2 separate regions of the Homo sapiens genome follow, and region 2 is linked to region 1. The links are contacts of gene promoters, found by promoter capture Hi-C in blood cells and fetal thymus (Javierre and others, 2016). All regions are on one chromosome and are shown on one strand. The core of a region is centred on a gene start or on the middle of the fragment in contact, and the rest is flanking DNA. Distances in the headings are between cores, read along the strand shown.

Region 1 (4,192 bases), core at 269-2,768:
CACTGCACTCCAGCCTGGCGACAGAGCAAGACTCTGTCTCAAAAAAAAAAAAAAAAAAAAAAAAAGCAAGACAAAAGGACTTCTCTCCTGTCACAGACTCTGCCCTTTCTGAGAGTCTGGGACCCTACTATTGTCACTCCTAAATTTTGTTTGTTTGTTTGTTTGTTTGTTTGTTTGTTTGTTTTTGAGACAGAGTTTCACTCTGTCGCCCAGGCTGGAGTGCAGTGGTGTGTTCTCGGCTCACTGCAAGCCCTGCCTCCCGGGTTCACGCCATTCTCCTGCCTCAGCCTCCCCAGTAGCTGGGACCACAGGCGCCCGCCACCACGCCCGGCTAATTTTTTGTATTTTTAGTAGAGATGGGGTTTCACCGTGTTAGCCAGGATGGTCTCGATCTCCTGACCTCGTGATCTGCCCGCCTCGGCCTCCCAAAGTGCTGGGATTACAGACGTGAGCCATCGCGCCCAGTCTGTCACTCCTAACTTCTAATCTGCTCTAGGGAGAGTCCCAATAGTCCATCTTGCATACTGAAGATTAAGTGAATTTCACAGCCAACACCACACAATACCTTCTCTATTGAGCTGTAAGCTGCCTCTGGACTGGATGGTGTTTTGTTTTTATTTTTACCGTCAGCACCAGTGCCTCTCACATAGAATTTAGCCAAGCCGGTTAGGTGTTAAGTGCTGCTGCTGCGCTGTCAGAAGGGCACACGGGGCTGGTTCTAGACCGGCCTCTGCTGCTTACTCGTTCAGTAATCTTCTACAGCAAGTTCTTGAACTTCTCTGGGCCTGTTTTCTACCTCGCCGAGTGGTTAACTGCGTTTAGGATCTTGGAAGCACCTAAGCACGAAAAGCACATAGGCCAGAAGTTAAGATGTCCCTTGGGGACGCAAATACCGGGAATTTCTCCGGCTGTTCCCACCGATCAAGCACCAGGGCTCTCAGGTCTAGCTCCTTCGTCTCCCCACCCCCACATATACCCTCACTTTTTCTTCCTTTCCCTATGCCTCGCAGTCCCTCAACAGGGTCTGCGGTCAGACGTCACTCCCAGGTGACTGGCAATCAGGGATGCCGCCTCGCTCACCTGGCCACCCTTGAAGATTGTGGATCCTGCACCGGCTAGCCGGCTGGCAGAGGGCGCGCCAACAGCCGCCAGCCGAAGTGCCCCCGCGTAGGTGGGAGGAGTGACTGCCTCTCACCATCCCCCGGGGATGCACCTGTGGAGAGACGGCCCGAGAGTTCCAGGGTGAGTGCGCAGAGGAGCTTATCTGCCTGCCTGCGGGTCGGTGTGTCCTGCCGGCTGCTGGGCGCTGGCCTGCGTCGCCTGCTTGTCTCGCTCCCTGTCCCTCGTCCGCTACCCCCTCTGCCCCCCCTCCCTCCAGCAGCCGGCCTCTCGGTCATCCCGCCGGGTGGGTGCCTGCGAACCTCACTCCTCCCTCCTCTGCAGGAGCCAACTGGCGAGCCGCAGGCCGCCGGGCTCGGCCTGGGAGCCCATAAAACCCGCCCGAGCCGCGCCGCTGCGCTCCAGCCGCTGCTCACCAGGCAGAGCGAGCGGGCTTGGCTGGGGCTTCCTGCCCTGAGCGCGACACCGACTGCCCCGGACCGCGCCTCCAAGCAGGCTGAAGGGCTTCCGCTCTTGGCTTCCAGAAAAGTTTGGAGAAAGAGAATTTGAGGCGGATTGGAGGGTGGTAGCCCCTCCCCAGCCTTCTTTCCCTCCCAGAAGCCTCACTCTGCACAGCGTCCCCCATTCTTCCCGTCCTGATTCCCCATCTTCCTGACCCCTCCTTCTCCCTCTCCTGGGTCGATCCCAGTCACATTTTCTCCTTCCGAATCTCATCCTCCCTCCTCCTCTCTATCCCAGTCCTCTGAACGATTTCCGCCTATTTGCAAGCCTTCTCCCTGTCATTCTCAACGCTTCTCCTTTCTCTCCACCTCCCCTGCCACTCCATTTTATCCATCAAACCTCTCCACTTGCATCCACACCCTCCCTTCATCCTTCCCTCCCAGCAAACCTTGCTCATGGATTCTGGGCCTCTGTGGGATGCCAACCCCACCCCTCGGGGCACCCTCTCTGCCCCCAATGCCACAACACCCTGGCTGGGCCGGGATGAGGAGCTGGCCAAGGTGGAGATCGGAGTCCTGGCCACTGTCCTGGTGCTGGCGACCGGGGGCAACCTGGCTGTGCTGCTGACCCTGGGCCAGCTGGGCCGCAAGCGCTCCCGCATGCACCTGTTCGTGCTGCACTTAGCCCTGACAGACCTGGCCGTGGCGCTCTTCCAGGTGCTGCCACAGCTGCTGTGGGACATCACCTACCGCTTCCAGGGCCCCGACCTCCTGTGCAGGGCCGTCAAGTACCTGCAGGTGCTCAGCATGTTTGCCTCCACCTACATGCTGCTGGCCATGACGCTGGACCGCTACCTGGCTGTCTGTCACCCCCTGCGCAGCCTCCAGCAGCCAGGCCAGTCCACCTACCTGCTCATCGCTGCTCCCTGGCTGCTGGCCGCCATCTTCAGCCTCCCTCAAGTCTTCATTTTTTCCCTGCGGGAGGTGATCCAGGGCTCAGGGGTGCTGGACTGCTGGGCAGACTTCGGCTTCCCTTGGGGGCCACGGGCCTACCTCACCTGGACCACCCTGGCTATCTTCGTTCTGCCGGTGACCATGCTCACGGCCTGCTACAGCCTCATCTGCCATGAGATCTGTAAAAACCTAAAAGTCAAGACACAGGCCTGGCGGGTGGGAGGAGGGGGCTGGAGGACTTGGGACAGGCCCTCACCTTCCACCTTAGCTGCCACCACTCGGGGGCTGCCATCTCGGGTCAGCAGCATCAACACCATCTCACGGGCCAAGATCCGAACAGTGAAGATGACCTTTGTCATCGTGCTGGCCTACATCGCTTGCTGGGCTCCCTTCTTCAGTGTCCAGATGTGGTCCGTGTGGGACAAGAATGCCCCTGATGAAGGCAAGTGGGGTCTATGTGGGGGCAGTGAGGTGGGAGAGACAGAAAGAGAGGATGGGGGATTAGGTCAGGGTTACAATGCCTCCCAGGGCCAGGCAGGTGACAAACTAGTGGGGCAATGAAGGAAGATGGTGCCTGCTCCAAGTGAAAAGGGGCAGTTATGATTTCCATTCAGCCTACCGATGCCATGTCAGTATCTTTTACGTGAAATTTCCAGCTTTAAAAATTTTGGTAACTAACAATTTTAAAATACTAGGTGGTACTAATGAAATATGACCATTAGCACATTTGGCCACCAACTACTAGTTTGCTAGATGGGCTTTAAAATCATAGAATGATAGCAATTTGTGGCCCATGAACTTGCTCTCTCAGCCTTGTCCCTCCTGCACCTGGACATGCCTTTGAGCTCCTTCTCAACAGACACTTCCAGTTAATTAGGGTTGGCACATGAAAACCCTGAAATTTCCAGTTCAACCTCTTCATGTTACTAATGAGGAAACAGAGGCTCAGAGAGGAACTGTTACCAGCTGATGTGGTGAAGTCCCAGGTTCTTGGTGCCACGAACAAAGAATTGGATGTGACACACACAAATAGCAAAGTAGCAAAAGTTTATTAAGCACAGTAACACTCTCGGAGAGGGGAGAGTGGGCTAAGCTCTGTGAAATGAGATCGGCGTCAGTTTGGTGTACTTTGGGCCTTTTTATGTGTTTTTTTTTTCTCTTCCCCGAGCTGCCTAATCTTTAACCAGCATCTGGCTTTTGATTGATAGGTAGGTTGCTTAGTTACTTTGGCCCTTGTGCACTTGCACGTAACCTTCATCTCATAATTTTAAGTGCATGCATGCTATGCAGTACCTATGCATGAGCTTTAATGAGCTGATTCTCATATGGGGTCATTTTAGGGATACTTTTTCTCTTTAATATACATGCCCATCTCTGAGGAGCTGCCCCTTACTGGATTGGTCTGAATCTAGCCAACCATGGGGGCTCTTGACTCACTTCATATAACTTTTGTTTTGGCTCAGCTTCTGCTTCTTATCTTGCCTCTTGCTCACCCTCCTCTTTATCCTGCTTCTGCTCCTACTCATTCTGCTTTTTATCCAACCTCTAATTCCCTCTGCTGTTTTCCTGCCTCAGAACCATGACTTGCCCCAGGCCTCACAGCTAGGGAGTGACAAAGTGAAGAATAAAGCCCAGGTCTTCTGTCTCCTTGTCTTTTTCCTCAACCCCATTAATAACCC
Region 2 (4,155 bases), core at 1,267-3,766, 230 kb after region 1:
AGCAGCCATTGTTCTATCCAAATTGGCTTATCTGTTAACCATTTTAAAGGTATAGGTTCTGGAGGCTTAACAATGGCTGCCATCAAAAATGATATCCTAAGCCTTGGCAGGAATTTTGTCTTTCCACTTGCAGTGGTTCTTTCAAAACTCGCAAATTTTTTCCTAGTCCAATACCAGGAACATACCCCATTATATGCATCATATGTTGACTTTGAGGGCTATATAATTGTTCTGGAATTAGAACTTGTACTCCCCATTGTTGTAATAAATCCCTTCCTCAGAAATTTATGGGTACAGAAGTTATAATTGGTTGAATAGTCCCAGGTTGTCCATCAGGCCCTTCACAATGCAAAATATAGCTACTTTGATATACTTCAGGGACTTTACCAACTCCAACTATTGGAGTTGAATTGAGTGGGTTGAATTGGCCATGCAGACGGCCAGTGCTGTAGAGAAAATGTCCACTCCTGTATCTACCAAACCTTTAAATTTATTTCCCTGAATAGTTATTTCACAGGTAGGATGTGTATCAGTAATTTGATTTACCCAATAAGCTGCTTTGCCTTGTTTATTTGTGCTTCCAAATCCTCCTGTTCATTTAATTTCACTTTTTCCCATTCCCACATATGACACAATCAGGAGCTGTGCTATGCACTCTCCTGGCTCTGCTTTCCAGGGAACAGAAGTAGATATAACAATTTGAATTTCCCCATTGTAATCTGAATCAATGACTCTTGTATGTATTTGTACCCCTTTTAAATTTAAACTAGAACTGCCTAGAACTAATCCTATTGTCCCTGCTGGCAAGGGACCACAGACTCCTGTTGGGACCTTTTGCAGGGGTTCCCCAGGCAGAAGACTCAGCATAAATCTACTGCAGCATAAATCTAGTGTGGCTCTACCAGCTGTGGTGGGGGACAGGCATTGTACAGGGGTGAGGGAATGACCCGAGCTGGAAATGCCCCAGTTTGGAATGGGGCCCAGGATGGGCCCCTCATGGCTTTTCCTGAAATCAGGTTCCCATCTTTATCAAACTTAGAGTGATTAGCCCAGTGTTTTCCTTTTTTACATTTTGGACATATTTCAGGCTCAGCAGTTTTCTTTTTTCCCCTATCTGGTGGCCCGACTTGCTGATTTTTTTCTACTTTTTTTTTTTTCAGTATGACCATGCTTCCCACAGTTAAAACAAGCTCCAGGAAATGGAGTACTTTCTGTATCCACTCTCAGTCCTGCCATTGCCCGTGCTAGCAGGTGGCCTGATGCAGATTACCTCTGATACCACCACAGGCCTTGATATAATCAACTAAATGTGCTTTCCCTCTGATAGGTCACAGAGCAGCCTGGCAATCAGGATTAGCATTGTTGAAAGCTAATAATTGCAACACTATATCCTGAGCAGCCAAATCTGCAGTCATCTTTTTAAGAGACTCCTGTAACTGAGCTATAAAATCCACATATGATTCTTCTGGTCCCTGTTTTATAGCACTAAAGAAAGGGTATTGTTCTCCACTTGAAGTGATTTTTTTTCCCCAAGCTCTAATGCACGCTCCTCTAAGCTGTTCTATGGCATCATCCTGCATGACCATTTGTGCATCTAAACCAGCCCAACTGCCAACCCCCAAAAGTTGGTCTGCAGTTATATTAATTTGAGGTTGGTCCTGCGTGTTGTGAGAAGCCTGAATGGAAGCTTCATCTGCCCACCAAGTTTTAAATTGTAAGAACTAAGCAGGAGTTAGACAAGCTTGAGTAAGAGCGTCCCAGTCAGTAGGAATCATCTGACTGGAAACAGCAATGTTCTTTAATAGTCCCATTACAAAAGGAGAACCTGGTCCATACTGATTAATAGCTTGTTTAAATTCTTTGAGTAATTTAAAACAAAAAGGCTCAAATGTAGCTACAATATTTCCCTGTTGGTCTGGGCAGTGTAGTCTAACAGGGAACTGCCAAGCCTCTTAATCACCTTCTCATCTAGCTTGCTGAATTCCTGACTGAATAGAACTAAGAGCAGTCGCTCGAGGTGCTGCTTGAACAGTCACTGGGGCAACTAATTTTTGCCCACTGTCCTCTGGAAAAGAAAGATCTGGAGGGTCAGGCCACTCTTTTTCTTCAAAATAATAATGAGGGGGTGCAGAAGGGTAGGGATGAACCTCTCCCTCCTTTGCCACTTTAGCTTTAGCTGGCAAATAAACCTGCTCTATAACCTCTTCTGTTACTTCATTATACTCTCCTTCTTCCTCATCATCAGTGTGAAAAAGTTCCAAGATGGAACGAACCAGACCCCACACTTGTCCCATTGTTACCCTGATGCTTCTGAGCTCCCCTTCTTACTCACCACGGGGTTTGCTTTAAGAGTACTCAGGTGTCCTCCAGCTAGTTCCATGTTCTCCAACCATCACTCTGGTGACCCTTCAACCTGGATTCGAGCCCCCATGATGGAGACCACTTGCTGAGACCAGCTTGGTCGGGGAGACTCTAACCCAGTGGCACTAGAGGAATTAAAGACACAGAAATATAGAGGAGTGAAGTAGGAAATCAAGGGTCTCACAGCCTTCAGAGCTGAGAGCCTCCAACAGAGGTTTACCCATGTATTTATTAACAGCAAGCTAGTCATTAGCATTCTTTCTATAGATATTAGATTAACTAAAATTATTCCTTATGGGAAATGAAGAGATGGGCTGAAATAAAGGGATGGGTTGGACTAGCTATCTGCAGCAGGAGCATGGCCTTAAGGCACAGATCACTCATGCTATTGTTTGTGGTTTAAGAATGCCTTTAAGCGGTTTTCCACCCTGGGTGGGCCAGGTGTTCCTTGCCCTCATTCTGGTAAACCCACAACCTTCCAGCGTGGGCGTTAAGACCATCATGTACATGTCACAGTGCTGCAGAGATTTTGTTTATGGCCAGTTTTGGGGCCAGTTTATGGCCAGGTTTTGGGGGGCCTGTTCCCCACAGAGAAGATGATAACCAGCATCATAAAAATATGTGAAACTATAAAAACTCACTGGTAAAGCTAACACATAGGGAGAAAGAGATAAGACTCAAATCTTATCCCTACAGAAAACTGCCCAACCACAAAAGTAAACAGTAAGAGAGGAAGGAACAAAGGATATACAAAACAAGCAGAAAATAATAGAATGCTAGATGTAAGTACTCACCTATCAAGAATAACGTTGCATGTAAATAGATTGAATTTTCCCATTTAAAAGATATAGACTGGGCTGACTCTCTTTTTGGACTCAACTCGTCTGCACCCAGGTGAAATAAACAGCCTTGTTGCTCACACAAAGCTTGTTTGGTGGTCTCTTCACATGGATGCATGACACATTTGGTGCCAAAGACCCAGGTCAGCAGGACTCCTTCAGGAGACTGTCCCCTGTCCTCACCCTCACTCCATGAAGAGATCCACCTACGACCTTTGGTCCTCAGACCAACCAGCCCAAGGAACATCTCACAAATTTTAAATCGGGTAAGTGGCCTCTTTTTACTCTCTTCTCCAACCTTTCTCACTATCCCTCAACCTCTTTCTCCTTTCATTCTTGGTGCCACCCTTCACTCCCTCTCTTCTCTTAATTTCAATTCCTTTCATTTTCTAGTAGAGACAAAGGAGACACATTTTATCCATGGACCCAAAACTCTGGTGCTGGTCATGTACTCAGGAAGGCAGCCTTCCCTTAGTGTTTAATCATTCCGGGGATGCCTGCCTGATTATTCACCCACATTCCATTGGCGTCTGATATCTTCAGGGATGCCTGCCTTGGTCATTCAACCACATTCCCTTGGTGGCAAGTCAATTGCGGGGATGCCTGCTTTGGCTGCTCACCCACATTGCAGCCCAGGGCTGCTCCCCAACCCTTTCTCCATGTCTCTACCTTTCTCTTTAAACTTGCCTCCTTCACTATGGGCAAACTTCCACCCTCCATTCCTCCTTCTTCTCCCTTAGCCTGTGTTCTCAAGAACTTAAAATTTCTTCAACTATCACCTGAACTAAAATCTAAATGTCTTATTTTCTTCTGCAACACTGCTTGGCCCCAATACAAACTCGACAATGGTTCTAAATGGCCAGAAAATGGCACTTTTGATTTCTCCATCCTCCGAGACCTAGATAATTTTTGTTGAAAAATGGGCAAATGGTCTGAGGTGCCTGACATCCAGGCC

What was found. Contacts are between HindIII fragments. The CHiCAGO score rates a contact against its expected background, and 5 or more counts as called.
Region 2: a fragment that was not itself captured here is called in contact with the fragment with the promoter of AVPR1B in region 1 in 1 of 17 cell types (endothelial precursors); the score reaches 5.3 in endothelial precursors.

The regions. Positions count from the first base shown.
Region 1 is chr1:206,114,714-206,118,905 of GRCh38, reverse strand. AVPR1B (arginine vasopressin receptor 1B) reads left to right here and starts at 1,518. Exons shown (of 2, transcript NM_000707.5): 1 at 1,518-2,955. The coding sequence starts at 2,016. AVPR1B-DT (AVPR1B divergent transcript) reads right to left here and starts at 1,123. Exons shown (of 3, transcript NR_186693.1): 1 at 1,081-1,123; 2 at 566-836. RefSeq lists a silencer at 404-698. The HindIII fragment of the contact is 5,056 bases long and covers 1-4,192 here.
Region 2 is chr1:205,889,487-205,893,641 of GRCh38, reverse strand. PM20D1-AS1 (PM20D1 antisense RNA 1) reads right to left here. Exons shown (of 3, transcript NR_046097.1): 2 at 2,333-2,486. Among named protein-coding and RNA genes, the nearest start is that of PM20D1-AS1, 29 kb to the right of the region's middle. The HindIII fragment of the contact is 1,546 bases long and covers 1,744-3,289 here.